Regions from separate parts of the Homo sapiens genome. Here regions 1, 3, 4, 5, 6 and 7 are each linked to region 2. Evidence: promoter capture Hi-C in 16 types of primary human blood cells and fetal thymus (Javierre and others, 2016). All regions are on one chromosome and are shown on one strand. Each heading gives the region's core, a stretch centred on a gene start or on the middle of the fragment in contact. The rest is flanking DNA. Distances are from core to core; before and after follow the strand shown.

Region 1 (3,988 bases), core at 406-2,905, 670 kb before region 2:
ACCACATTTAACAAATATCTGTTAACATCCCTCTGAATTGGTGTCAGAATTGGTGTCCCAGGGAACACGGTTTAGGAAATGTCTTAAATATTAACAACCTTCCAGCCTGGCCAACATGGGGAAATCCCGTCTCTACTAAAAATACAAAAAAATTAGCCAGGCATGGTGGTGCGTGCCTGTAGTCCCAGCTACTCAGGAGGCTGAGGCAGAAGAATTGCTTGAACCTGGGAGGCGGAGGTTGCAGTGAGCTGAGATTGTGCCACTGTACTACAGCCTGGGTGACACAGTGACACTCCATCTCAAAATATATATGTACATATTAATAACCTATACCTTTTGCAAATCACCTTCAAATGCCATTAATTTGTTCATTAATTTGCTCAAACAAACTGCTGAGCATCCTCCATGCTAGGGAGTACGGCTACAAAGACTACGTGTCCCAGTAGCCCCCAGACTAGTCAGGGAGCAGATGTGGGCAGACTGTGCTGGCACCTGGGACAACGGCTGAGCCAGGTGTTCAGGAAATGATGGATGAAGTGATTAATTCTGACATCAGCACTCTGATAATCTTCACAGAACAAGCAAGACCTCATCTGAGCCTAGAAATAAGCCTGGGTCCCTTCCATCTTTGCAGTATCAGGAGCTTGTTAGAAATGCAGAATGTCCTGACCTAGAACTCCCAAATCAGGACTTAGGCTGTGGCAAGATCCCTGGGTGATCCTTATGCGCATTCACGTTTGAGAGGCGCTGACTTAAAATAGCGGGCTTTCTGACAAGAATGTAAACAGAACCAAAATATACTTCTGTGTGGGGTATTGGTCAAAGGCTGACCTAGTGGGCTCCATACTAGGCCAGGCAGACAGAATACAAAGATAGGGTATAGAAAGACTGGTAGTGGCAACAAGTGAAGTGTCTTCTCTCCTGTCCTGGCCCTCACCTAACAAGGACTGTGATTCAGCAGGTTAGACTGCAGATATGCAGTGTGGAGGGAGCAAGGACAGGCAACGAGGCCACCCCTGTGGTCCCTTCTGCCTAGATGTCTGCCGTGACTGGCTCAGTGTAATGGGTATGGCTCGGAGGAAGGGAGCAGGGCATGAGGGAAGGATGCTTCCCATTACCCTCATCTAGAGACACCACCTCTGCTGTGGACCAGGTAAGTGACAGGCCACAGGGGCTCGGAGCCCAGGGCTCTGTGTGAAGAATTTTTGGCCTCTTCCTCTTCCTCTTGATCTTCAACACTGGTCACAAGAGGAAGCGCAGGGAGGGTTCAGGGCAGCCTGACCCTTCAGGAAGCAGACACATTTAGGGCCAGTGTGCCTGGAGGGTTCAGGGCGGCCTGACCTATCAGGAAGCACACACAATACCCTTGCCTGGGACTGGACCTGGGCCCAGACCTGGGCCCTGCTGGCCTCGGTGAGACTGTGGGCAGGTTGGGCCTTGGGAAGGGACCTTGGGAAGGGGCCTTGGTGAGGACCTAAGAGAAGCCCCTTCTCACAGACTTGGGCCTGTGATGGGTAGAGAGTGGCTAGCCCAGGTGGGGAGTAACTACGAGGGAAGGAAACTGAAAACCGCAACATCAATAACCACAGCACAACAAAACTAAATATAAAGAGATCCCAACACCCACCTGACAGCAGTTTCCCTGCCCCTGCCTCTGGAAGACGGTCTGTGTGCGAAGCATCCCCCAGCAGGGACCATATGTGTGTGCCCTCCAGAGTCCAGAGAAGGTGAGGTGAGCTCCCAATGCCCAGGATCATCAGGATGTAGACTTCTTGCTATTCTACCTAAACAAATAAATCAGACAGGAATCTCGCTAGTAGAGATGGCATTTCACATAGAGGGGAGGGCCCAAGGAAAGGCCCAAAGGCAGGACCACACTCATCCGGATAGGAAGACAAATGTCAACGTATACGTCTCTCTCCTATCCTGATTGAGCTGGCACTACTGTGTTTTCCAGTCTGAGGACACCAGTCACAACCTGTGCATATCACGGTGATAGAGTCACGTGGTTGCTCCTCAAGAACTGGGCTAGTTTGGACTCAACTTGTCTTCCAGCAGCCCACTGCACAGTGGCCCAACCTGGCCTCAGCTGGAAGACTAAGTACTCCCCATATCTCTACAACAGTTGCTCAGGACAATTCAGCTGGATCCACTGAAGCAGTCCCACTCCTAGAGGCAGCCCTCATCAGAAGGGTCTCTGCCTCCTGCTTTCTGAAGGGTTAACTCCAAGAGTCAACCAGGCCAAGGCATATCTGGAGACAGATTCCTTGGTTGGGACTTGCCAGGGTCAGTCTCATTTGTTTCTGATAACGTGAGCATAACATAATGTGTGTGTTTTCTTAAAAAACAACATAAGGCTAGGTGTGGTGGCTCAGGCCTGTAATCCCAGCACTTTTGGAGGCTGAGGTGGATGGATCACTTGAGGCCAGGAGTTTGAGACAAGCCTGACCAATGTGGTGAAACCCCGTCTCTACTAAAAATACAAAAATTAGCTGGGCGTGGTGGTGTGCACCTGTAATGCCAGCTACTCAGGAGACTGAGGCAGGAGAATTGCTTGAACCCGGGAGGTGGAGGTGGCAGTGAGCCGAGATCTCACCACTGCACTCCAGCCAGGGTGACAGAGTGAGACCCTGCCTCAAAAAGAAAAAAAAATAAAGCAAAAATAAAAAACAAAATAAGCAGGTTGGTGTTCCATGTAAGTCTGAAAGTCTGAATCTGCTAAGGAGTGTGTAACAATTGACCTGCCAAAAAAAAAAAAAAAACCGGAAAGGAAAAAGAGGCTGGGCATAGTGGCTCACACTTGTAATCACTTTGGGAGGCTGAAGTGTGCGGATCGCTTGAGCCCAAGAGTTTGCCACCAGCCTGGGCAATATAGGGAGACCCATCTCTACAAAATATATTTTAAAAAATTAGCCACATGTATTGGCATGCACCTGTGGTCCCAACTACTTGGGAGGCTAAGTTGGGAGGATTGTTTGAGTCTGGGAGGTCGAGGCTGCAGTGAGCTGTTATCACACCACTGCACTCCAGCCTGGGCAACAGAACAAGACCCTCTCTCATTAAAAAAAATGGAAGAAAAGAAAAATTATAATTACGAAAGTAATTCATGTTCATTACAGAAAAATTAGAAAATACAGAAAAATATAAGGAAAAAAATCCTGCCCCTAATTCCACCATCTAAAGGCATCTCTTTATACATTTTGGTGAATTTCTTACAAGTTTTTTTCCTACGCATATTTGTGTACATATTTAACATAGTTGACAGATCATAATGACCATACGTTTCATGCCCTACTTTTTCACTTAGCAGTACGTTATAAGCTTTTACTCATTAACGTTTGCTGTAATCATAATTAAATATTCCATCCTATAATCCTCTAAATTAGTTAGTCACATCCCTGAGAGTGGTGACAGATTTATATCACACTTCGACTAAGAATGTGCAGAGAAACTGTGATTTCTATATTCTTTCTCCCTAACTGATGTAGTCTTCTTCACAATGTCCCACCCACTGGTTAATAGGGAAAAATGACAACGGGCCTAACTAAAGAAAAATCTGAAGCAATAACCTAAATAGCCTGTATTTAAGGCTTTTGTTTTTCTTTTTTATTTTTATTTGTATTTTTTTAGATGGAGTCTCACTCTATCGCCCAGGCTGGAGTGCAGTGGCACGATCTCGGCTTACTGCAACCTCTGCCTCCAGGGTTTAAGCGATTCTCCTGCTTCAGCTTCCTGAGGAGCTGGGACTACAGTGCCTGCCACCACACCCTGCTAAGTTTTTGTATTTTTAGTAGAGACGGGGTTTCACCATGTTGGTCAGGCTGGTCTCGAACTCCTGACCTTGTGATCTGCCCGCCTCAGCCTCCCAAAGTGCTGGGATTACAGGCTTGAGCCACCACGCCTGGCAAAGGCTTTTGTTTTTCTATGTAATCCAATTTTGTATGTCAGAAGCCTCAGTATTTCTCTTCGTATTTTTTCTGTAGTAAAT
Region 2 (3,810 bases), core at 608-3,107:
TGCCTTTTTGCCCACATCTATATCAAGAATTGAAAAGACATCTGGACCAGCTGCCTAGCCAAAGTTTGTATTCTGTATTCAGTATGTAAGCCAATCAGAAAACTGGTGATTGCGTAACACATTCAGTTGCTGGGGGTACATTACCTCCTTATCTGGAACTGCAGATGTTTCCTTGCAACTTCTTTCTGGGGCCTCCATTTATTGGGGTCATACAAAATAAAAGATTATCCCTTTATCACTTAGAGAACACAATTTTCGTGCCCTTTTTGATTATTTTGTTTCTGAGTGAAAATTTCCCTATTATTTCACTATACCTTAAAATTTTGAATACTGATTGTTCAGATTTAGTCAGCTTCTACTTTGTCTAGGGTCCTTTTAAAGGGAATGCCAGAACTCAAGTACATTTTCCATGTGAGATCTGATGAACATAGAACAGAATAGAACTATCACCTCTGTAGACTTAAGATTTTTGTACTAACTGTATCTTTGTTTTCCTAGGGTGATACAATTCTGGAGACTGGAGAAGTAATTCCACCAATGAAAGAATTTCCTGATCAACATCATTAAAGATTATGTAAAAAGTTAAAAGGCTTATGAGCCTAAGTTTGTTCCTATATTACCATATTTACTGAATTTTCTGGAAAAGTAACTTTAATAAAGTTTAATCTCAGAAATTGTCATATCTGTTTTCAAGCATTGTACAATTTGAGACTGAGTAATTTAACAATAAGTAAAAAGTGGACATGCTAAACAAATATGAGAGACTACCTACTTTTTCTGGTCATTCTTGACTTGGAAAACGGTATGGAAAAGTATTTAGTTACATGTTTGTTTGTTTTTTTCTTACACAGTACTTACACTAATTTGGTATCAGGGTATGCAACAGTGAAATATCACAATAAACAAATGTAAGAACAGCAATTCCATGCACTTTTGTTTTAAGGAAATCTTTCCGGCCAGGCGCAGTGGCTCATGCCTGTAATCCCAGCACTTTGGGAGGCCGAGGCGGGCAGATCACGAAGTCAGGAGATCGAGACCATCATGGCTAACACAGTGAAACCCCGTCCCTACTAAAAATACAAAAAAATTAGCCGGGCGTGGTGGCGGGCTCCTGTAGTCCCAGCTACTGCGGAGGCTGAGGCACGAGATTGGTGTGAACCCAGAAGGCGGAGCTTGCAGTAAGCCGAGATAGTGCCACTGAGCCTGGGCGACAGAGCAAGACTCCGTCTCAAAAAAAAAAAAAGCTTTCCGAATCATTTTTGAAGAATTTAGAAACTTGATTGAAAAGCTTATTCCAACTATGATCTGACACTCAAGACTGTCAGATTTAGGTTGCTGTTAATTTTGTCATGAGAATGTAAAATACTAAAATCTCTAAGTGAAAAATTTGCATACTAGTGCTTGTTATAAAGGATAATGCAAAAATAAACTTGGGAACTTTGCATTATGAATTTTATTTTTATATCTACATAAGCATGAGGGAAAGAACTGTATTTTCAGATAATTAAATCCAGAAGAGTTACAAATTTTCATTCGTCCCAAAGATTTTGTCTGGGTATTTCTTCCTTAGCTGTCGTCTTGCAGACACCATCGAAGCATAGATGATGCAGCCCCAGGAGATTAAAACGATGGCAAGCAGCAACTAAACCAAAAATCGCAAAGGAGGTGTGAAATCTACCTGATATTTCCCCTCGCCCCCGTCAGGTTACCGTTGCCATTGCTAAGGTGGGAATTAAAGTAACAAAGTCGAATAAATGGGGTTCCAGTGGCGGGTACACCCAGCAGCCCTTACGTAAGAAGCGGAAGATCGTATCCTCCAGGAAGAGGCGGAGTCGAGGTGAGGGAGTGAAATGCTTAATTCAGGAATGGATTTTGGAGTTTCTGGGTGCTGAAGAAATAGGGCCTTTCCGCCTGCGGGCCCAGTGAGTCGACACGGTGGGGGCCCGCGATCCCCGGGACTTACCACTGAATAAATCCAGTCCAGCGTGCGACGACTTACTGGCTTCATGGTAAGGAGGCGGCAGCAGTCCGCGGGAGCTGGCGGGAGCTGCGGGCCTTACAGTAACCTCCCAGGCGGTGGCTGCCAGGCGCCAGCAGCCATCTTTTAGCCGGGCACGAGCGCCCGCCCACTCGCTTCGTGCAGCGCTGTCGCTGGCCTCTTCCGCCCGGAGTTGGGGGGCGGTATCACGTGATCGGGGGCCTTGCCCGCCTTTTAGAGAGGGGAATAAACGAGAAAATGTTAAAAATTGCTTTTTTTTTTTTTTTTTTGCCAACTAAGGAGATAGGCGTACCTCCACTGGTTTTCTTTCTAGTTGCAATGCAATATTAATGCAGGATAAGGTGCTGTCGTGTCCATTTAAAAGTTAATTTGAAAAACAATCCACGTTTTAAATATTACGTCTGGCTCTAAAGCTGGAAGAATTAACGCTTTCTCCCCCGCTCCCTCCCCCACGCCTCCCCGCATCTGATACCACACGATTTAGATGGACGTTCGCCTGTTCATCTTTGACGTAAAAATACCACCCACTCTTTTATATGTGACAAATCGTTGTGGGAACCCCTGTAAATCGAGCCATTCTTCAGAAACGTATAGCGTAATGTATATCTCTAAGAAGAAATACGTGGGACGCGTTACCCGCCATAATGTATCAGTCAAGCAACAAGTGTTTGTTGAGCGTGTCTGATGTTCTTGAACTGCCGCGCGTGAGATACTAAGCCCCGAGCACGGCAGTTTGGTGGGCGAGCGTACCAGGTTCAGCTCTAGAATGTTTGGGGCGCTCACATTTGAGGCCTGAGGAGTAGAATCTGGCAACGGGCCGCTTAGGCTCTAGACGTTCTTTATACCTCGCAGTTATCTTAAAAGAGTTTTAGTCTAGATTTCAGGGAGTGGGAAGGGGAAGAGCGGAGAAAAACGTGGTCTGTTTAGGGAGGAGTCCAGGCCCTGTTTTGTTAGGTTGTCCTGTTTCTCCCCAGCCTGGAGGGGATCCCTCTCTGAAGACTTTATAGGATACTGGTTGGGCTCTGGTTTGGGATCCCGTTGGACTCCTGGTGTTGCTTCCGGGAGGCGTACAACAGGAGGTGAGAGACTTCAAGTCCATCTAACAATTCCCCTATCTAGACACTAAAGATAATTTCCTAAGTTTCCGCAGAGTTTGGTAAGGTTGAAACGACATCGAACTAGTTCTCGTGTTTTCCGGGTAAGTTAGGGGCGAACATTCAGTCAGTGTCCCCAGTGGCTGAGTACCAGTAACAAGATGGGGAGGGTCGCGCTGCCCTCCTCCGGGGTCTGGAGCGGCGGGGGAGGGGCCGCATTTGGGCCGGTGCGCTGAGCCCCGCCCCCGAGGCCGGCGTCCATCTGCTGCGCATGCGTGAGGAAGGCGGGTGTTGTGTTTTGATGCGCGGGAGCTGGGGGGTGGGTCTCGCTCTCTGCCCTGCTTCCGAGCTGCCATTGGTGATGAGCCCTTTGCGTCACAGGGGTCGCAGCCGCCGCTGGGGTCTCCGCTGTCTCGCGAGGAGGGTGAAGCGCCCCCGCCTGCTCCCGCTTCGGAGGGTAGGCGGAGAAGTCGCCGGGTACGCCTTCGCGGATCCTGCCGACACCGACCTAGCTTTCTGGGCTGCCGGGAGCTCGCGGCGAGCGCCCCAGCCAGGCCTGCGCCGGCATCCTCCGAGGTGAGTGAGATTCGGAACAATGGGACGCGGGGGTCGGAAGGGCCGTGGGAGTTGGCGCTCCCGCCTGGAGCGGCGCCTCGGGACCCGAGGGTTGCGGTCATGGCCTGCGGGGCTGTCCGGGCCTCGGCGGGCCAGGGCCAG
Region 3 (3,859 bases), core at 1,311-3,810, 690 kb before region 2:
CAATGTACCAACCAGAGCAACCCTTGAAAGACATAACTCTCTGCTCAAAGCTTTCAGTGCCTCCCATTTTAGTCAGAGGAAAAGCCAAGTTCTTATGTTGGCCAACAAGGTCTTTCCCGGTACAGTTCCAATTTGCCTCTCTCATCTCCTCTCCTATCACTCCGTACAATGTCCCCTCCTGCCACACTGGTCTTACAGTACCTCAGTCACTCCAGGCATGCCCCTGCCTCAGGTCCTTTGCACCTGAGCTGTTCCCTCTGCCTGGAATCTTCTCCCAGATATCCACATGGCTTAGTCCCTCATCTCCTTCAAGCTTTGCTCAAACATCGGACTCTCAGAGATACCTCCCCTGATTTGAAATTGCAACCCCCTTCCAGTGCCCATCACCCTGCCAAGTATTTTTTCCTTAACTTTTATCAGCTTCTAACATACCGTTTAACATACATTGTAACCATCTTGTTTATTGCCTTTCCCCTTTTCCTCTACCCCATTGGATTTATGCTCCATCAGGACCGTGCTTTTTCTGTTTGGGTCACTAATCTGTCTTAAGGGCTCAGAACAGTGCCTGACATGGTAGCTGTGAGATTGCAGGGATGGCCCAGATCCTGAGAGGGCCCTGCCCCAAGTATATGTGTCCAGTCCTGGGAAAGGGCTCTGTCGTGCTCACATGGCTGCCCAAGTCCCAAACCACAGCCTTTCAGAGAGATCGGGAGCTCAGAAGACCTCGGCCAGGTCTCTCTTAGCATCCACCACCCTGCACCCAGCATACTTGTCAGTCTCTCCTGAGAGCTGGGACCTACCTGCTCCCTTCTGTCCCCACAGCCTCCAGCCCAATAGTTGCTCAGTGCAGCTTTGAACTGGAACAATGCCCTCTTTTACAGCTGGAGAAACTGAGGCCCCAAGAGGGTAGGGGACTTTGGTAATTCTGCGCCAGTCAGGATTTGAACCCAAGTTTCTTTTCTCCCAGCCCAGAACTTTCCCCAGCACAGTGGAGGGTGCATATGCAGAATGAAGGTACATGGAAAAAGCTGAGGCCTCACAGGGTGCTCCAGGCCCTGCTTCTGCTCTCACCCCAAGCTCACCTACCAACACAAAGCCACAGAGAATCCAGGTTCTGCCCACTCACCCCTGTCCACAACAAGGAGGGCAGCCAAGGCCAGGGCGATTACCCACTGGCGGACGGCCATGCTGATCCTGGGATAGTGTAGCCTGAGCTGGCTGGGGCCTGCGCCTGAGGAAGGATGGGGGCCTATTTATAGTGCCGCTCTCCTAATCTTATCTTATCTAGGGCCAGATGGAGAGACCAGAGTTAATCTTTGCACGCTGACATCCGGAAAGGGCTTGCTCTAGGTGCAGATGCTGAGCTTTTGATGAGATGGGGCTGTGGCCATGGGGCTGGCAGGTTTCCAGAGTGACAAAAAGTTTGGACAACTTGCAAAGCTGACTCCAATCTGAGGGTTGGAGCAAGGAGAGGAAAGTTGAAGTAGAAAGAGAGAGAGTTCAAGGCAGAGAGAAGGGGAAAGAGATAGAGAAAGAGAGAAAGGAAAAAAGCAACTGGAAGATGGCAGGAGGCAGAGAAGGGGGCTGGAGCCTGGATTCCTTTGCCAGTGCCTCCAGCAACCAACTCTGGGACCTCGGTAGAGCCACTTTTCTTAACTGGGCCTCAGATCACCCATGCACGAAGTGGAGATGAGACTTTTGGCTCTGCCTTTCTCCCAGGCTGCTGTGAGGATGGCGGCGGTGATAGCAGACGGGAAAACATTTTGCAGAATATGAAATGAGCTGTAAACGTAAGCAGAAATGATCATTTTTACTTACTTTTATTTCACTTATTTTTTTGTACCGCAAAGTGGGCACAACTAACAGGCAAAACAAAGGCAAAATAAAACATTAAAAGGAAGATGCCTTCTTGCTTTGCAGGTATTATGTGTTCATTTGCTTTTTTTTTTTTTGAGACAGAGTCTCACACTGTTGCCCGGGCTGGTGTGCCTGGCGCGATCTCGGCTGGCTGCAACCCCTGCCTCCTGGGTTCAAGCGATTCTCCTGCCTCAGCCTCCTGAGTAGCTAGGATTACAGGCACCTGCCACCTGCCCAGCTAACTTTTTGTATTTTTAGTAGAGACGGGGTTTCACTATGTTGGCCAGGCTGATCTCGAACTCCTGACCTCGTGATCTGCCTGCCTCGGCCTCCCAAAGTGCTGGGATTATAGGCATGAGTCACTGCACGCGGCCTCATCTGTATCTTCATAGGTTAAATAAAGACAAGATTCTTTTAAAGAAAAATCAGTTTCTAAAACTCCCCCATACTTACATAGTATACATTAATAAGTCATTTGGATATTTGCTCTCAAAGAATTTCTGATATATAAAATACATTTTATTTACATACACGTTTCTCTAATTCATTTAGATCAGTGTTTTTCAGCTCTGTCTGCAGATTGGATTTCCCTGGGGGAGAATTTACAAATACAGATGCTGAGCTTCGCTCTGAAATATTTAAATCAGAATCTGTGTTTTTTTTTTTTAAAGAAAAACTTTATTTCGAAAGATTTCAAGCCTGCAGATAAGTTGCAAGAATATTCCAATGACAAGGCGAAGGATTCTTGTTTGAGGACAGCCCCAGCCAGGTGCGGTGGCTCATGCCTGTAATCCTAACACTTGGGAGGCTGAGGCAGGAGGATTGCTTGAGCCCAGAAATTAGAGACCAGCCTGGGCAATATAGCAAGACCCCAACTCTAAAAAAAAATTTTTTTTTTAATTAAAAAAAGAACAGTCCCTTTGGGGACACCAGCCATCCAGTCACCTCTACAGACCCATAGAAGCCCCAGACCTGTGGCCAAGACTAGCTTGAGGCCCCCAGTGATCCTTGACTCAGCTTCAAGATCCTTCCGTTCCTCCTTAGGAAACTGCACAGTCCCAGGGATGCCTCTGAGGCAGGTGGCAGCTATCTTTCCATTGCTTAGGCAGGTAGAGAAAATATTTAATGATGACTTCCTGTCCTAAAGCAAAAACGCCATCTTATAAAAGGGGAATTGGACTTTAAAGGTCATCTTGGGGCCAGGCACCATGGCTCACACCTGTAATCCCAGCACTTTGGGAGGAGGCTGAGGCGGGTGCATTCACTTGAGGTCAGGAGTTCGAGACCAGCCCTGGTCAACATGGTGACACCCATCTCTACCAAAAATACAAAAAATTAGCCAGGCGTGGTGGCGCATACCTGTAATCCCAGCTACTCAGGAGGCTGAGGCAGGAGAATTGCTTGAACCTGGGAGGTGGAGGGTGCAGTGAGCCAAGGTTGTGCCACTGCATTCCAGCCTGGTGACAGAGCGAGAAACTGCCTAAATAAATAAATAAATAAATAAATAAATAAAAATAGGCTTGGTGTGGTGGCTCACGCCTGTAATCCTAGCACTTTGGGAGGCCAAGCTGCATGGATCACCTGAGGTCAGGAGTTCGAGACCAGGCTGGCTGACATGGTGAAACCCCATCTCTACTAAAAATACACACACACACACACACACACACACACACACACACAAATTAGCTGGGTGTGGTGGCGTGTGCCTGTAATCTCAGTTACTTGGGAGGCTGAGGGAGGAGAATTACTTGAACTAGGGAGGCGGAGGTTGAAGTGAGCCGAGATTGCGCCACTGCACTCCAGCCTGGGTGATGGAGCCAGACGGTCTCAAAATAAATAAATAGATACATAAATAAATAAAATAATAAAATAAAAAATAATGGTCATCTGGGTTTCATCTCCCTTCTTCCACTAGGGCTTTCCTACAGCAGCCCCACTGGGAGGTCATTCATGGTGATGGGGAGCTCACTACCTACCAGTTTCGTTGTTGGATGGCTTCGAA
Region 4 (3,702 bases), core at 795-3,294, 740 kb before region 2:
TATTTCAAGTAGCTGGAAGTTAGTAAACAGGATGTCTAGTCACCACGGCTAGAATACAAGTGGTACCCTAAATCCAAGATAACACAGCAGCACAGTAGGTGTCCAACAGGTGGGAAAGGCAGACTAAAGGGAAATCCAACTGGCAGATTACAAAGTCCAGAGACAAGGCTGGCATTGCAGAGTCTGCTCACCGGCAGAAAAGTATCCTCTGCACTGGGCTTCTGTTTAAAGACTTTGATGATGAGGGTGTGGGCTAAAGATGATGCTAAAATACGAACATGGAATGGGAACTAAAGCAAAATCAAACTAAAGCACATGAAAAGGAGTAAGGAGGTCTTTGGACTAGAAGATTTTGCCTCATTAGATACTTTCTGGGTTGGAGGTAATAACTTGGGCACAACACCAAAGTTCAACACGAAGACTCACAACTAGGCCCCACCGAATTCTTCTTCAAACACTGAAGGGTACAGAAATGAGTCAGAAACGAGCCTGTGGATGAGACGATCAATAGATCCAGTTTAGAGAATCTGGTGAAGGACTAGGTGAGGAGAATAACAAAATACCCAGCCCAAAAAGTTTTCCAACCCCAAGGAAGACTTAATATCCACATCAAGACTAGGGTACACCAATGCAGTGTGTTTTCCAACTTTTTTTTTTGAGACGAAGTCACACTCTGTCGCCCAGGCTGGAGTGCAGTGGCACGATCTTGGCTCACTGCAACTTCCGCCTCCAGGGTTCAAGCAATTCTCTTGCCTCAGCCTCCGGAGTAGCTGGGACTACAGGCGCGTGCCACCATGCCCAGCTAATTTTTTGTATTTTTAGTAGAGACGGGGTTTCACCGTGTTAGCCAGGATGGTCTCGATCTCCTGACCTCGTGATCCGTCCACCTCGGCCTCCCAAAGTGCTAGGATTACAGGCGTGAGCCACCACGCCCGGCCCTAACTTTTTAAACTAAGAACCATAGTAATAAATACATTTTACCTGCCACCCAGTATACAAATACATATATGGTCTTCTTGGTGCCCCAACGGCTGGTCAGGGACAGAGCTGAGATTCAAACCAATGGTTTCCAAACTCCATTCTGCAAACTGCTGCCCTGTTTTCCAGAGTGGGCCATAAAATCAAATGAAGGCAGTGGGCTGTGACATATTTTTAAACGAAACAGAAAACAGAATATATTGCTGATTGTAAAACAAACCAACCAACCTCACTGCTTCCAGAAACTTCTGGTTCGCTTTTATATTTATGTAAGTGTACAATATTTAAGGTCGCGATGCAAAATGTTTCTTTTGGTTGCTGTCCAACACATTTGGAAAACACTGATCTATGGAACACCCTGAGGAAATGGATGTTATATCAACGAACAAATGAGGCTGTCTCTACACACTGAGGCAACTCCAGGAGGGGGAGTGAGTGAACAATTACAGAATAGGTACAGTACAGGGCGGGAGCCATCACAGGAATTAACTTATCTACTCCCAACTGACAGATGAGGAGACTGAGACTGAGTCACACGGGGTTCGCAGCAGGCTGAGACTCTAAACTACTGGAATTCGGCTCGCGCCCACGCCACCACTCCAGGCGGTATGAGCACACCACACCCTACACGTCAAGAGCCCGCCACCGTCACTGGCTGTGACCTGGCCGACGCCCGCCTGTCGAAGGTCAGTGCGCCGCTGCCCCAGAAACAGCCTGTGGGAAGGCAGGGCACCCACATCGACTCGCAGCGCCGGGACAAGTCCTCTCTCCTCCGAAACCCAGCTACTGGGCTTCACCATCTAGTCCAAGAAGACACAGATCTTCGTACGCACGATGCGCGGGGCTTGGCCCTTCCGAGCCACTATCCTACGCCCTAGCATGTGCTACTCTCGCGATATGAGTGGCTGAGGCCCTAGAACTTCGTCACTGACCCAATTTCCGCTCCCTGAAAGGGGCCCAGTCCCGCTCGGGCCGGGACAATACCTGAGACAGGAGGCGCCTCCGCCATCCCGTGCCGCAGAACCTAGATCGAGCTGTACAGCCAAGTCAGCACTGTCACCAGGTCACGTGCCCCGGACTTCCGGCGCCGCGAGAATATTCGCATCTGCGCGCCGTGTAGACGGCCACAGAGGTTGCGCAGCCCGAATCTGTGTGGCGCGTTCGTGACGTCAGATAGACGCGCCAGGTGTCGGGCGGGAGGAGGAGACTAGTAGCTGGATGGAAATAGCAACAATCGCAGGAGGGAGGGCGGCGACTTGCGTAATCATTGTGGTTTTCCTTTTTTTATTTTTTGATATAGGGTCTTGCTGCCTTACCCAGGCTTGAGTGCAGTGGTCTGATCATGGCTCACTATAGCTTCAGTCTCTAATCCTCCCGCCTCAGCCTTCCGGTAGCTGGAACTACAGGCGGAGCCACCATGCGCAGCTATTTTTAGTAGAGACGGGTTTCGCCATGTTGCCCAGGCTAGTCTCTCCAACTCCTGGCCTCAAGCGATCCTGCCGCTTTGGCCTCCTAAAGTGCTTGGCTTACAGGCGAGCCACCACGCCTGGCTCCAGACTTTTTTTTTTTTTTTTTTTTTTACAAAGGCGTTTATTCTCATCAGTATCACCGATATTCTCATGGTTCACATTTGCCAACGCCGCTCCTCTCCTTACAGTAGTTAAATGTGCAATCTCACTTGGGGGCCCAGGGAGGGGTGGGGGCTCGGCCCAGGGTGGGGAGGGCGTTGGCACTTCACGTGGACAGGGTGGGCAGCCTGTCCTGCGTGAAAGAGGTGTGGGTGAGTGGGCGGCCAGGGAAGGGGAGTTGGCAGGGGAGGGCCCCGCAGTCTTTTTTTCTTTGGTGGTTGGTGATTCTCCATTCAGATTCCTTCCTGGCTTCCCAGGGTAGGGGAACCATGCAGCTCAGGGCAGGGCAGGGGAGGAAGAGAAGGAAAAAGCAGCAGGCCGCCCGGGGGGAAAGGTGGAGGGTGAACGGCAGGGCAAGGGGGAACGGGTGGCTCCTGAGGTAAGGCACAACCCTGTCTTTGGCTTTCCTGGTGAGGAGTTTCCTCCCCTGCACCCCCTGCCCGACGCTTCTCCCCACCCCCCCACCCCCCAGACCCACACACAGTCCCAGGAGCCAGGGGGCACCACCTCCTGGGGTCCCTGAAACAAGTGGGCTCTGCCACCCAAGCCAGTGCCGCAGGGGCTCGAGGAGGGACACCCGAGGAAAAGGCAGAGAGGGGCAGGCAGGGGCCTACCCAGGACAAGGGGGTGGGGGTGAGAAGACCCTAGGCCCAGGAGCTGGGCCCCCCGCCCCAACTAAGTCCTGGAAGTGGGGGAGCACCTGCTTCCTTTCGGGGGTCTGGCTGGAGCCCCGGTCTGCCCCTTGGCCTCCGTCAGGCCCAGCCACTTGCCAAGTGACCAGGGCATTGTGCTTTGGGGTAAACGCTGGGGTGGGGTGGCAGGCCAGGAGGCAGGGGGAGAGGAGGGATGACTAAGGTGCTTGTGCTTTAGCTGGGGGTGTCGATATCCCCCACTCGGGCCGGCTGGGGGCTAAGGTGCCAGGCCCCGGCCAGGAAGACAGTGCCAAGACCCCAGCAGACCGTGGCACTGACCCCCACAACAAGCAGATGTTAAGAGGGACCCCCAGTGGGCCAGCGGGGCTGCTGGTCCCATCAGGGGGATGGTCTTCAAATCAGATTACAAGGGTCCAGTAGGGGCTGGCCCCCACCCCATCTCC
Region 5 (4,023 bases), core at 1,477-3,976, 600 kb before region 2:
TGTAGGCGGGCTCAGTCTTGTGTGCCTGGTGTGTTGGTAGAAAAACTAAAGCACAAGCCTGTAGATAACCTGCTTTATTCTACCTCGGGGCTGGTGTTGGAATCCAGGATGCCAGACCCTAAAGTCCAGCTCTCTTTCCAACCTACTGAATAATCCGAGAGAAATCATGTTCTCTCTCTGGGCCTCAGTTTGCCCATGTATAAAATGAGATGAAGGATTGGCTGGGATGCTCTCCAGAGTCTCTTCCTGCCTGGAGTTCTGACGTAGCCATGTACTCCTGCTCAGCATCGCTAAATGGCTTTGTGGTAGGACCATTGAGTGCTGCCTCCATTAGGGCCAGCTATGTAATGCTGGGGTGGCTGTCACTGGGCCCTAAGAGCCAGGATTGGTCTTACTGGAGAAATCCACATCCACCTAAACTTAAGACCCAGGGGTGTCCAATCTTTTGGCTTCCCCAGGCCACACTGGAAGAAGAATTGTCTTGGACCGCATATAAAATACACTAATTATAGCCGATGAGGTTAAAAAAAAAAAACTCAATATTTTAAGAGAGTTCATGAATTTGTGTTGAGCTGCATTCAAAGCCATCCTGGCCGCATGTGGCCCATGGGCCATCGGTTGGACATGCTTGCTTTAGACCTCCCAGCAATTCTAGTCTCTAAACAGGAAATCAAAAGTCAAGATGAATAGATAAGTTGGTCAGTGTGAAAAAGTAATTGGTGGGAGCCACTGTAGATGCAGGGTTCTAGGCTCCATCAACAACCACCTACATCACTGAACGAAAGATAATGCTTGTTCAGCACTTATTACATGCCAACCATGGTAAAAATACTTCAGATGCATTGTTTTCATGAACTCTCACAGCAGCTCTTTTTCTTGCCTAAATGCCCCGTTAGAACCTCCAGTACAATGTTAAATAGATATGCTAAGAGACAACATATGTGTCTTGTTAGGGGGAAAATATCCAGTCTTTGACTATTAAGAATGGTGTTAGCAGTGGGTTTTTCCTAGGTGCCCTTTATCAGGTTGAGGAAGTTCCTTTCTATTCCTGGTTTGTTGAGTATTTTTATCATGAAAAGGTGATGGGTTTTGTCAAATGCTTTTCTGTGTCTGTTGAGATGATCATGTTTTTTTGTCATTTATTCTATTGATATGGTATATTATACATTGATTTTTCAGATATTAATCTTGCATACCTGGGATAAATCCCACTTGGTCATGGTGTATAATTCTTTTTATTTGTTGCTGGATTGAGTTTGCTAGTATTTTGTTGATTTGTATTCATAACAGATAGTGGTCTGTAGTCTTTCCCTCCCTCCCTCCCTCCCTCCCTCCCTCCCTTCCTTCCTTCCTCTCTCTCTCTCTCTCTCCCCTCCCCTCCCTTCTTTTCCCCTCCTCTCCCCTCCCCTTCCCTTTCTTCTCTTTCATAGTTGTTTACCACTGTCAGAAAAGGTCTGTTCGTTTTCTTTCGTCGTGAGATCTTTGTTTGGTTTTGGTATCAGGGTAATACTGCCTCAAAAAATGAGTAGGGAAGTGTTCCTTCCTCTTCTGTATTTTGAGAGAGTTTGTGGTCGGTTTTTATTAATTCTTCTTTAAATATCTGGTAGCGTTCACCAGTAAAGCCATCTGGGCCTGATGTTTTCTTTGTGGAAAACTTTTTGATTCCTAATTCAGTTTCTGGTTATAGGTCTATTCAGACCTTCTATTTTTTCTTAAGTCAGTTTTGATAGTTTGTGTCTTCCAAGGAGTTTGCTTCATCTAAGTCATCTAATTTGTTGGCATACATTTCATAGTGATTCCTTATGATCCTTTTTATTTCCGTTAAAGTTGGTGTAGGGATAGTCCCTCTTTCATTACTGATTATAATAATTTGAATTTTCTTTTTTTCTTAGTCTTGCCAAAAGCTTGTCATTTTTATTGATCTTTTCAGAGGACCAACTTTGAGTTCATTATTTGTTCTCTTTGTTCTTATTTTTCTGCTTCATTAACTTCTCTAATCTTTATTCTTTCATTCTGCTTGCTTTTGGTTAAGTTTGCTTTTTCTGGTGTCTTAAGGTAGAAGGTTAGGTTACTGATTTGAGATTTAAAGATCATGCTCTTTAAACGTTTTGATAGATACTGTCAGTTTGCCCTCTGGCTTTTTCTCATTAACAGTGTATAGGAGTGCTTATTCCTCACACTCATACCAGCCCTGGGTGTTACTAACCTTTATATATTTGCCAGTATCATATTCAGACATAGTATCTTGTTTTAATATGTTTCTCTGATTACTGATGAAGTTAAGCAAATTTTCACGTGTTTATTGGCCATCTGTCTTTCTTTTTTCATCCTTTCTTTCAAGATGGGAGTCTTTGCCATGTTGCCCAGGCTGGACTCGAACTCCTGGGCTCAAATGATCTTCCTGCCTCAGCCTCCTGAGTAGCTGGGACTATAGGCGTGAGCCACCATGGCTGGCTTGCCCATTTGTATTTCTTATGTGAGTATTTTTTCTTTTTTTTTGAAGTGGAGTCTCACTCCATCCCCCAGAGTGGAGTGCAGTTGTCCGATCTTGGCTCACTGCAACCACCGCCTCCCAGGTTCAAGTGATTCTCACACCTTAGCCTCCCAAGTATCTGGGACTATAGGTGTGTGCCACCACACCTGGCTAATATTTGTATTTTTAGCAGAGATGGGGTTTCACCATGTTGGCCAGGCTGGTTTCAAACTGGCCTCAAGTGATTCACCTGCCTCGGCCTCCCAAAGTGCTGGGATTACAGGTGTGAGCCACTGTGCCCAGCTGACTTTTTTTTTCTTTTTTTTAACCCTTTTTTTTTTTTACCCTTTTTTTGGCCCATTTTTTTTTACCCTTTTTCTTTTAACCCATTTTTCTATTAGTTTTAAAAATATGTTTGCAGGAGCTTTTTATATTGTGGATTTTTCTTGTTTATTACATATCATTTGTAAATATGGTCTCTCCATCTGTCACTCTTCTTTATCTCTGGTTTCTTTAGCTATGTAGAAGTTGTTATGTTATGTTATGTTATGTTATGTTATGTTATGTTATGTTATGTTATGTTATGTTATTTTTTGGAGAGGGAGTCTTGCTCTGTCGCCCAGGCTGGAGTGCAGTGGTGAAATCTCGGCTCACTGCAACCTCTGCCTCCTGGGTTCAAGCGATTCTCCTGCCTCAGCTTCCCGAGAAGCTGTGATTACAGGCACCCGCCACCACACCCAGCTAATTTTTGTGTTTTAGTAGAGACGGGGTTTCACTATGTAGGTCAAGCTGATCTCAAACTCCTGATCTCAAATGATCCTCCCAAAGTGCTGGGGTTACAGGCGTGAGCCACTGCACTCGGCCAGAAGTTTTGAATTTTTATGTGTTTAAATCTATGTTTTCCTTTATGACTTCAGGTTGCTTTCATACTTAAGCAGGTCTTCACCATCCCAAAATGATAAAATTTTTCTCCTGAGTTTTCTTCTAAGTTGGTTCTTTAGAAGCCACCAACTTGGCTTCGACAGCAAAAGATGAACAGAATTTCTGTTCAACTCTCATGCTGCAAGAAGCTTTATGTAATACTCCAGGGACCCTTTAAGGTCCCAGAGTTTTCCTCCAAATCTATCAGTGATTCTAGTGGCTAAGAGTAGAAATGTGAAAATTTAGCCATGTGTGCTGATAGAGCTGTAGTAATTTGTAAGCTCTGAAGTTCTAAGGAGTCAGGGGAGAAGGGAAAGTAACATTTATTGAACATCTATTAGCTCAATAAGAACATGCGATAAGTATGTATATGTATTATTTCACTTACATCTGAAAGGAAGGCATAATTATCCCCACTCCTTAGAGAAGGAAATTGGAGCTGGCTACATTTAAAGTAGTCCTGACACCAGAGAGATATTGCCAGGAGTACTTGGCTGGCTGAGTGCCCAGATGGCCCATAGGAGTAGTGGGCCCTCCACAGTCCAAGGTCTGGTTCTAGGTGGAGAGAGAAGGATGTGCTCGTAGTCAGCACCGCAGCTCCAGAAAATCTGCTGGGGCTCCAAAACTGA
Region 6 (3,859 bases), core at 487-2,986, 750 kb before region 2:
TCCAATATTATCCCTCCTCCAAGCAGTAGAAATACCAAGATAACACTCTGATGTCTGGTTTACTCTTAGATTTGGGTAGTAAAAGTAAGAATTGTCATTTTTTGATCACTTGCCAGAAAGACTCTATATCGAGCCGCATAGATGCACTAATTCATTTAATTTTCATAGAACCCTATAAGTGTTATTATTACTATCATTATTATTTTACAGATGCAGGCTTAGATAAATTAATAACTTGTCCAAGGTTACATAACTATTTAAGTAACTTGAACCTAAGATTTAAACCTTTGTCTGAGGTTAAGGCCTGTAGAAATTTATTTGTAACTGATCAACTGTTTTTCTATTACTGTGCATTTTTTGGTATTTAGAAGCTGACTGCATACAGTCTACTTATTTATTTATTTATTATTTTTAGAGACATGGTCTTGCTTTGTTGCCCAGGCTGGAGTGCAATAGTGCAATCACAGCTCACTGCAGCCGTGAACTCCTGGACTCAAATGATCCTCCTTGCTCAGCCTCCCAAGTAGCTGGGACTACAGGTGTGTGCCACCACAGCTGGCTAATTTTAAATTTTTTTGTAGAGACGGGGTCTCATTTTGTTGCCTAGTCTGGTCTAGAACTCCTGGCCTCAAGCAATCCTCCTGCCTTGGCTTCCCAACGTGTTGGGATTATAGGCATGAGCCACCGTGTCTGGCTTATGGATATAATCTACAGCTGGCTATTTATTGTAGGGAAAAGACTGACATCCTATGGCTGGGTGTGGTGGCTCACACCAGTAATCCTGGCATGTTGGGAGGCTGAGGAGAGCAGATTGCTTGAGCCCAGGAGTTCGAGACCAACCTGGGCAACACGGCAAAACCCCATTTCTACCAAAACATACAAAAATTAGCCAGGCGTGGTGGCACACGCCTGTAGTCCCAGCTACTCAGGAGGATGAGGTGGGAGGATGGCTTGAGCACAAGAGGCGGCGGTTGCAGTGAGCTGTGATCACACCACCACACTCACACTCCAGCCTGGGTGACAAAGCGAGACCCTGTCTCAAAAAAAAAAAAAAAAAAAAAGAAAGAAAGAAAGAAAAAGATTGACATCTTGACATCTTGGAAATACTGTCCGACCGGGACCCTAAACAATTGTCTTTCCCCAGACAGAAGGTTCTCCCATACATTCTCTTGGACCTGGATATCAATGCGGGATAAAACATATGAGTCACATTTCTTCTTAGAAGCAAGCAGTGTAATGTAATGGAAGCAGCACTGGCTTTGGAAACCCTAGCTCCACCATCCACGCCCTGCCACTGTGATGCTGGGCAAGAGGCTTGGCCTTTCTGAGCCTCATCTGTAAAGCAGAGATGGTAAATATCTATTACTGGGCTGTGGTAAGGATTCAACAAGTTAACTGATGTAGAGTGCCTGGCACAGGGTGATTTGAGACCATTTACTGAGGTCCCATATCACCCTTCATCCCAAACCATTACATGCTAACCAGGTATGTTTACTTAGAGCCACCAGCAAAGCATGTCCACCAGCAATCCCAACGGAATTAGCATTCCAACTTACAGGTTACAGGAATGTGGGCAGTCCTGGCCAGGCTGTTTCTTTCTACAAACCTCACCACAGCTATGTGGAATTTCATTTCTGCTCCACTCAGGATTCTTTACCTTGCCTAGAACATATCAGATCAGAGAGTCAATGGTACAAACTTCAACCACATTCTCAACTTTAATGAAACAGTAAAGTATAGCTAGGCAGCATGCAACTTTAGTGTGGTTTTTATTATTTCAACAAATGTATTATCCCATATCTTAAAATAAAAAGATAAATATAATGCTATTCATAAAAAGTTTCACTGAGTATGATAAATCTTAAATCTTGGATTACCTGGGAAAGATAAATAAAAAGTCACTTTTACTTACGAAAATACTATCTTGACTAATGGAAACGTTTAATTTAAGATAAATACCTATAAGACAAGTCGTCTATAACTGGACTTCTGAACTGATATGCGAATTGCTGCTGGAAGGATCAGAGAGAGGGAATAAGAGAAGAGCACCGTGGGGAAAGGGGGGAGGCAGTAAGAAATGGAAAGGACATAAATCCCGAGTAGCAGGAACTCACCTATTCCAGAACTATAAAGTCGGCATAAAAGACCTTATACTTTTATAATCAATGTCACTGCAAATCTTCATGGCACATCTTCCATGGACTCAGCAGAGACAGGGAAGAGTAAAACGAAGGCACAGGATTCCTCCTTGCCCTTGAGGAATTCATCCTCACTTGGGCAATTTGCACACTAAATTGCAGCCATCCCCAGTCCATGGCCTCTGCTTTTCTCTCTATACTATCTCTTTCAGAAATTTTATTCATGTTGAGAGGTGCAATCCACCTAAAGGCCATTGATCCCCAAATCCACATTTTCTCTCTTGCCCTGAATCTTCAGTTTCAGACCCATATGTCCAAATGTCTGCTGAACATTCTTGCTTGGGGTTTCACAGTCACCTCAAACTGGCTTTATCCACAGTCAAAGTTCACATCTTCCCTCTATAACTCCTCCCTTTTCAGGGTTTCCTATTTCTGTCAGTGACGTCAACTCTGTCAGAGTCACACACGCTCAAAAACTACAGTCATCTCTGACACCTCTTTCTACTTAATCACCAAGTTGTGTCAATTTTTCCTACAAAGTGGCTCTCACCTCATCGCTCTCCTGTTCCTGCCTCTCTAACTGGCCAAAACCTCATCTCCAGACTATCACAAAAGCCTCCCTGCCTCTGTGCTTTTTTGCTCCAATACAGTGCCCTGGTTTTCCTCTAACATCTCTCAAGAGCTCTACCTTTTGTCCCTGACTCCAAATGATGTTTTGGGGTTTTTTGCTTTTCTTTCCCCTGCAAGTGTTCTGCATTACACCCTTTTCTCACTCTGTACCCTTTCATCCGCTAGGGTCTTAACTACTCCTCTCAGCTGTGATTCTCATCCTTAAGTCCTGGTCTTTCCTCAAATATTGCTACCTGCCTGTTGGACATATTTCACTGTATGTTCTGCTCACTCCTCCAGCTCAACATTTCTAAACTGTAGTCACTGTCCCCACCAGACCTTCTTCTTTTGACCTGCCCTTTTCCTTGGTATCACCATTTCCAAAAGCATGAAACTTTGGGTGACTCCCATTCCTACTACTGTCAGGAATCAACCTAACACCATATTTTTCTATCACACTCCTTAGAGGCTTGTACTACTCTTCATCTGGATTATAAGTCCCAAATTATTTAGGCTCCAAAATACTCTACTCACTGCTACCAAACTAATCTCCATAAAGAATCATGTTGATGCCCTCAGTGGCTTCCCACAGCCTTCCAAATGAAGTCCCAACATCTGAGACTGGTATCAAAGGGTCAGCCCTTCCTTTCCAGTCATCTCCCACTCCCCTACCATCATAGATCCTGGGCTCTGTAAGTGGATGAATCACTCTTCTCCCAATATACCCTAAACCCTGTTGATTTTGAACTGCCTATGCTATTCCCTTCAACATATCTTTCTGCCTACAAAGATTTTACCTAGTTTACAATGCCAGTTCAATTCTACCTCCTCCAAGAAGGCTTCTCTTAATCATCCAGCTGTAAGTCGTAACTACCCCAAAGATCTCCCATAGTACTTTGTACTTCTAGCAGAGTATCAGGCTAATTGTGTTTTAACTCTTAGACTGTAAGCTCTGGTAAGTTAACCGTTTTATTCGCCTCTGTTTCTTCACAGTGCCTTGAACATTAATAAGTTCTCAATAAAAACATGTTAAATTAATGGTCCCCTGGAAGAACAGTGTGGGGCAAAGTCATCTGCAAATAAGGCCTTTATGTGCATTCTCACATCATTTT
Region 7 (3,820 bases), core at 1,229-3,728, 920 kb before region 2:
GGATCGGATTGATGCCTTCCTACGGGAGGTCAACCAGCGGGTTGTGAGGGTGCCCTCAGTCCCTGAGACAGAGGTAAGCAAGTGGCCTGGGGAACTGGGAAGCCCAAGAGAGACCTCCAGTGGGGGTATATCAAACAGGGGCCTTGCTGTTACTCTGTTTAAGGGTTGGGGTGCAGGGAGCTCATTCTCACAGCAAGGAAGCTTAGCTGGGAGCGTGGTCATTTGTGTATTCATTCAGCAAGTACTTCCATGCCTTGCAGTATTTGTGTTCTTAGGATATATCAGTAAATAATAGCCTATGCTGTAATGCTGAGGTTATAGTTAATAGATAAGCATAACAGGTAAACTCTATGGCAATGTTAGAATGTGGTAAACACTGGAAAAAGGAAAAAGTAGGACGAGCAATGTAAGGGGATTGGGAGTATTAGAGGATGGGAGTGGTTTACAAGTTTAAAGGGGGTGTTCACAAAGTAGGCCTTATTGAAGTGACATTTGTGTAAAGACTTGAAGTAGGTGAGTCAGCTATATAGATATCTAAGGGAATAAAAGCATTCCAGGAAGGGGGAACAGCCAGTACAAAGGCACAAAGGCAGGAATGTTCCAGTTACATTCCTTGGAATGAATGAGGAATACAGAAGGAGATGAGTTCAGAAAGGTGATGGGGAAAAGTAGCATATCATGCAGGGCATTGTGTCCCGAAGTAGGGACTTTGGCTGTTGCTCTGGGTGAGATGGGGAGCCACTGCTGGATTTTATTTTGCAGAACAGTGATGCCCTCTAACTTTTAAAAGTTCACGTTTTTGTTTTTGTTTTTGAGACGAAGTCTCGCTCTTGTCCTCCACACTGGAGTGCAATGGCGCGATCTCAGTTCACTGCAGCCTCCACCTCTCGGGTTCAAGCTATTCTCCTGCCTCAGCCTCCCGAGTAGCTGGGATTATCACACCCGGCTAATTTTTTTGGTATTTTTAGTAGAGAGGGGGTTTCACCATGTTGGCCAGGTTAGTTTTGAACTCCTGACCTCAGGTAATTTGCTCTCCTTGGCCTTCCAAAGTGCTGGGATTACAGGTGTGAGCCACCGTGCCCAGCCTAAAACGTTCACTTTTCCAGCCTTAAAAAGTTTAGTTTTAGAAAAATTTACTCCGGCTGTTGTGTCAAAAGTAGAATCGAGAGGGACAATGATGAGATTAGAGAGACCAGTTAGGAACTAGTCTAGGCACTGAGAAATGGTGGCTCCTCAAACTAGGGAGGAAAGTAGTGAAGTGATCCATTTCTTTCTTTTTTTTTTTTTTTTTTAAATCTTTTCCTCTCTCTGTTTTAAAAAAGTTTTCTTTTTAGAGAAGTGATCCATTTCTGAATACATTTTGGTAGTAAAATGGGTATTCTTTTTTTTTTTGAGACAGAGTCTTGCTCTGTTCCCCAGGCTGTAGTGCAGTGGTGCGATCTCGGCTCACTGCATGCTCCGCCTTCCGGGTTCACGCCATTCTTCTGCCTCAGCCTCCCCAGCAGCTGGGACTACAGGCGCACGCCGCCATGCCCGGCTAATTATTTTTGTAGAGACGGGGTTTCACCGTGTTAGCCAGGATGGTCTCGATCTTCTGACCTCGTGATCCGCCCACCTCGGCCTCCCAAAGTGCTGGGATTACAGGCGTGAGCCACCACGCCCGGCTCGTAAAATGGGTATTCTTAACAGAGCTAAGTTAAGGTGATTTAAGTGGTTTTGGCTTGAGCAACTCATATGGAGTTGTCTTAGCAAGGAAGACATAGTTATGGGAAGATTGGGAGTTTGGTTTCAAACATATCGATGTGTTAAAATGTCTTCTAGACATAAAGGGTACATGTGAGGAAGGCAGTTGAATCAGTATGTGTCCCTGTCTCTGCCCCCACAGCTCACTGACCAGGCATGGCTCCCAGCTGGGGTTCGAGTGCCCCTCCACCAAGTGCCCTATGCCGTGAAGGGCTGTTTCCGCTTCCTGCCCCCAGCCCAGGTTACTGTTGTGGGCAGCTACCTTCTGGGCACCTGCATCCGACCAGACATCAATGTGGATGTGGCACTGACCATGCCCAGGGTAAGGTCCAGGGTTTAGGGGATAGAGGCCCACCACCTGACTACCTACAAATCCTGGATCCCTCTTTCTTATCTGCCGCTTGCCAGGGGATTGAAGTCAGAATTCTAAATCAGAAGAGCAGACCATTGCAGGCATCCTGAAGGCAGCTTAGATCCCTCGGGCCAGTTGCTGTCCTTTTGGAGCTTTGCTCTCCAGATATGAGAACTGGGCCTAGTGTTGCTAACCGTGGCTCAGGCACTTCTGTCAGCAGAGGAGCCCTGGCTCTCTCACCTTGGTTTCACCTTGGCCCACAGCTCCACAAGCACTTATGTGCCTGGCCTTCTCTTCTCCCCTGGCCCCTCCAGGAAATCCTACAGGACAAGGACGGGCTGAACCAGCGCTACTTCCGCAAGCGTGCCCTCTACCTGGCCCACTTGGCTCACCACCTGGCCCAGGACCCCCTCTTTGGCAGTGTTTGCTTCTCCTACACAAATGGCTGCCACCTGAAACCCTCACTGTTGCTGCGGCCGCGTGGTGAGAGGCACACATTGGGCTGAGGGCATAGCATGGGATGGTAAATCTGGAGGAGAAGGCACAGAGGCACGGAGGCCTCAAGTATGGGGGGACAGGATGGGGAGCCCTCTGGCTCCAAGGGCTCCTGCAGAGTCTCAGCACTCACTGTCTCTGGCAGGAAAGGATGAGCGCCTGGTCACTGTACGTCTGCATCCGTGCCCTCCACCTGACTTCTTCCGCCCGTGCCGCTTGCTGCCAACCAAGAACAATGTGCGCTCTGCCTGGTACCGAGGGCAGAGTCCTGCAGGGGATGGTGAGCAGGCCCTGGTGTTGAGGTGGAGCTGGAGGGAAGAGGTGTGGGGACTTTTCCTCTCATGGCTTCCCTTTTCATCCCACAGGTAGCCCAGAGCCTCCTACCCCCCGCTATAACACATGGGTCCTGCAAGATACAGTTCTCGAGTCCCATTTGCAGCTGCTGTCAACCATTCTGAGTTCAGCCCAGGGCCTGAAGGATGGCGTGGCACTTCTGAAGGTCTGGCTGCGGCAGCGGGAGCTGGACAAGGTGAGTTGGGGGTGGCGCAGCCTCCCTACCTGAGCGCCTGTGTGATGGGCAGGCTCTGACCTCAGCCTCTCCCTGTCTCTTTCAGGGCCAGGGTGGGTTTACTGGGTTCCTTGTCTCCATGCTGGTTGTCTTCCTTGTGTCTACACGCAAGATCCATACCACCATGAGTGGCTACCAGGTCCTGAGAAGTGTCTTGCAGTTTCTGGGTGAGGCAACTAGGTGGGGAAAGGCCAGGGGCTCCACTCCTCCTGGGAATCCTCTCATCCCAGTAGCAGTCTTTTGGTGTTTTGCCATCAGACAGATGAGCAAACTGAATCGGCTGAGGGAGGGTGTCATTAGGGCTGGGTCCCCAGAAGGGGATACCTTCTAATACACTTGTGATTCACTTCAGCCACTACAGACCTGACAGTCAACGGGATCAGTTTATGTCTCAGCTCAGATCCCTCTTTGGTGAGTTGGGGAAGGGCCAGGTCTATGCCAGGAGGCCTGCAAGTAAGGTGCCAATCCTGACCTGCTTCTCTCTACACCCCCCAAGCCGGCCCTGGCTGACTTCCACCAGGCCTTCTCCGTTGTCTTCCTGGATTCCTCAGGCCATCTCAACCTCTGTGCTGATGTCACTGCCTCTACTTACCACCAGGTACCAATGGGCCCCCAATCTGTGTTCCCCTGATGTCTCAGCCCAGACTCTGTCCCTTTTGCAA

The links. Contacts are between HindIII fragments. The CHiCAGO score rates a contact against its expected background, and 5 or more counts as called.
Region 1: a fragment that was not itself captured here is called in contact with the fragment with the promoter of TOPORS in region 2 in 1 of 17 cell types (neutrophils); the score reaches 6.8 in neutrophils.
Region 3: a contact is called between a fragment that was not itself captured here and the fragment with the promoter of TOPORS in region 2, in 1 of 17 cell types (neutrophils). The highest score is 6.8, in neutrophils.
Region 4: the fragment with the promoter of NFX1 here is called in contact with the fragment with the promoter of TOPORS in region 2 in 1 of 17 cell types (neutrophils); the score reaches 6.0 in neutrophils.
Region 5: a fragment that was not itself captured here is called in contact with the fragment with the promoter of TOPORS in region 2 in 1 of 17 cell types (neutrophils); the score reaches 6.3 in neutrophils.
Region 6: a contact is called between a fragment that was not itself captured here and the fragment with the promoter of TOPORS in region 2, in 1 of 17 cell types (neutrophils). The highest score is 9.5, in neutrophils.
Region 7: a contact is called between a fragment that was not itself captured here and the fragment with the promoter of TOPORS in region 2, in 1 of 17 cell types (neutrophils). The highest score is 6.3, in neutrophils.

The regions. Positions count from the first base shown.
Region 1 is chr9:33,218,748-33,222,735 of GRCh38, reverse strand. No RefSeq gene overlaps it. Among named protein-coding and RNA genes, the nearest start is that of SPINK4, 19 kb to the left of the region's middle. The HindIII fragment of the contact is 3,336 bases long and covers 1-3,323 here.
Region 2 is chr9:32,550,633-32,554,442 of GRCh38, reverse strand. TOPORS (TOP1 binding arginine/serine rich protein, E3 ubiquitin ligase) reads left to right here and starts at 1,857. Exons shown (of 3, transcript NM_005802.5): 1 at 1,857-2,009; 2 at 3,475-3,669. The coding sequence starts at 2,007. SMIM27 (small integral membrane protein 27) reads right to left here and starts at 2,116. Exons shown (of 2, transcript NM_001387564.1): 1 at 1,964-2,116; 2 at 1,436-1,642. The coding sequence starts at 2,008. The coding sequence ends at 1,520. It overlaps NDUFB6 (NADH:ubiquinone oxidoreductase subunit B6), which reads left to right. Exons shown (of 4, transcript NM_002493.5): 4 at 499-1,442. The coding sequence ends at 567. RefSeq lists enhancers at 1,369-2,082, 1,887-2,216, 2,227-2,436, 2,083-2,797 and silencers at 3,077-3,296, 3,797-3,810. The HindIII fragment of the contact is 29,085 bases long and covers 1,291-3,810 here.
Region 3 is chr9:33,237,537-33,241,395 of GRCh38, reverse strand. It overlaps SPINK4 (serine peptidase inhibitor Kazal type 4), which reads right to left and starts at 1,229. Exons shown (of 4, transcript NM_014471.3): 1 at 1,127-1,229. The coding sequence starts at 1,187. The HindIII fragment of the contact is 4,489 bases long and covers 316-3,859 here.
Region 4 is chr9:33,288,858-33,292,559 of GRCh38, reverse strand. NFX1 (nuclear transcription factor, X-box binding 1) reads right to left here and starts at 2,044. Exons shown (of 24, transcript NM_002504.6): 1 at 1,963-2,044. The coding sequence starts at 1,987. It also overlaps the pseudogene LOC100862682. RefSeq lists enhancers at 1,769-1,818, 800-1,999, 1,969-2,018, 2,029-2,448, 3,154-3,702. The HindIII fragment of the contact is 6,050 bases long and covers 1-3,702 here.
Region 5 is chr9:33,151,350-33,155,372 of GRCh38, reverse strand. The region is part of intron 1 of B4GALT1 (beta-1,4-galactosyltransferase 1); the gene reads left to right. Among named protein-coding and RNA genes, the nearest start is that of B4GALT1-AS1, 14 kb to the left of the region's middle. RefSeq lists an enhancer at 1,553-1,672. The HindIII fragment of the contact is 1,639 bases long and covers 1,907-3,545 here.
Region 6 is chr9:33,304,997-33,308,855 of GRCh38, reverse strand. It overlaps NFX1 (nuclear transcription factor, X-box binding 1), which reads right to left. Exons shown (of 24, transcript NM_002504.6): 5 at 1,557-1,662. Among named protein-coding and RNA genes, the nearest start is that of NFX1, 16 kb to the right of the region's middle. The HindIII fragment of the contact is 4,959 bases long and covers 1-3,859 here.
Region 7 is chr9:33,468,257-33,472,076 of GRCh38, reverse strand. NOL6 (nucleolar protein 6) reads left to right here. Exons shown (of 26, transcript NM_022917.5): 3 at 1-73; 4 at 1,886-2,065; 5 at 2,410-2,578; 6 at 2,736-2,870; 7 at 2,956-3,119; 8 at 3,205-3,325; 9 at 3,511-3,569; 10 at 3,655-3,756. Among named protein-coding and RNA genes, the nearest start is that of MIR6851, 2.2 kb to the right of the region's middle. The HindIII fragment of the contact is 4,549 bases long and covers 204-3,820 here.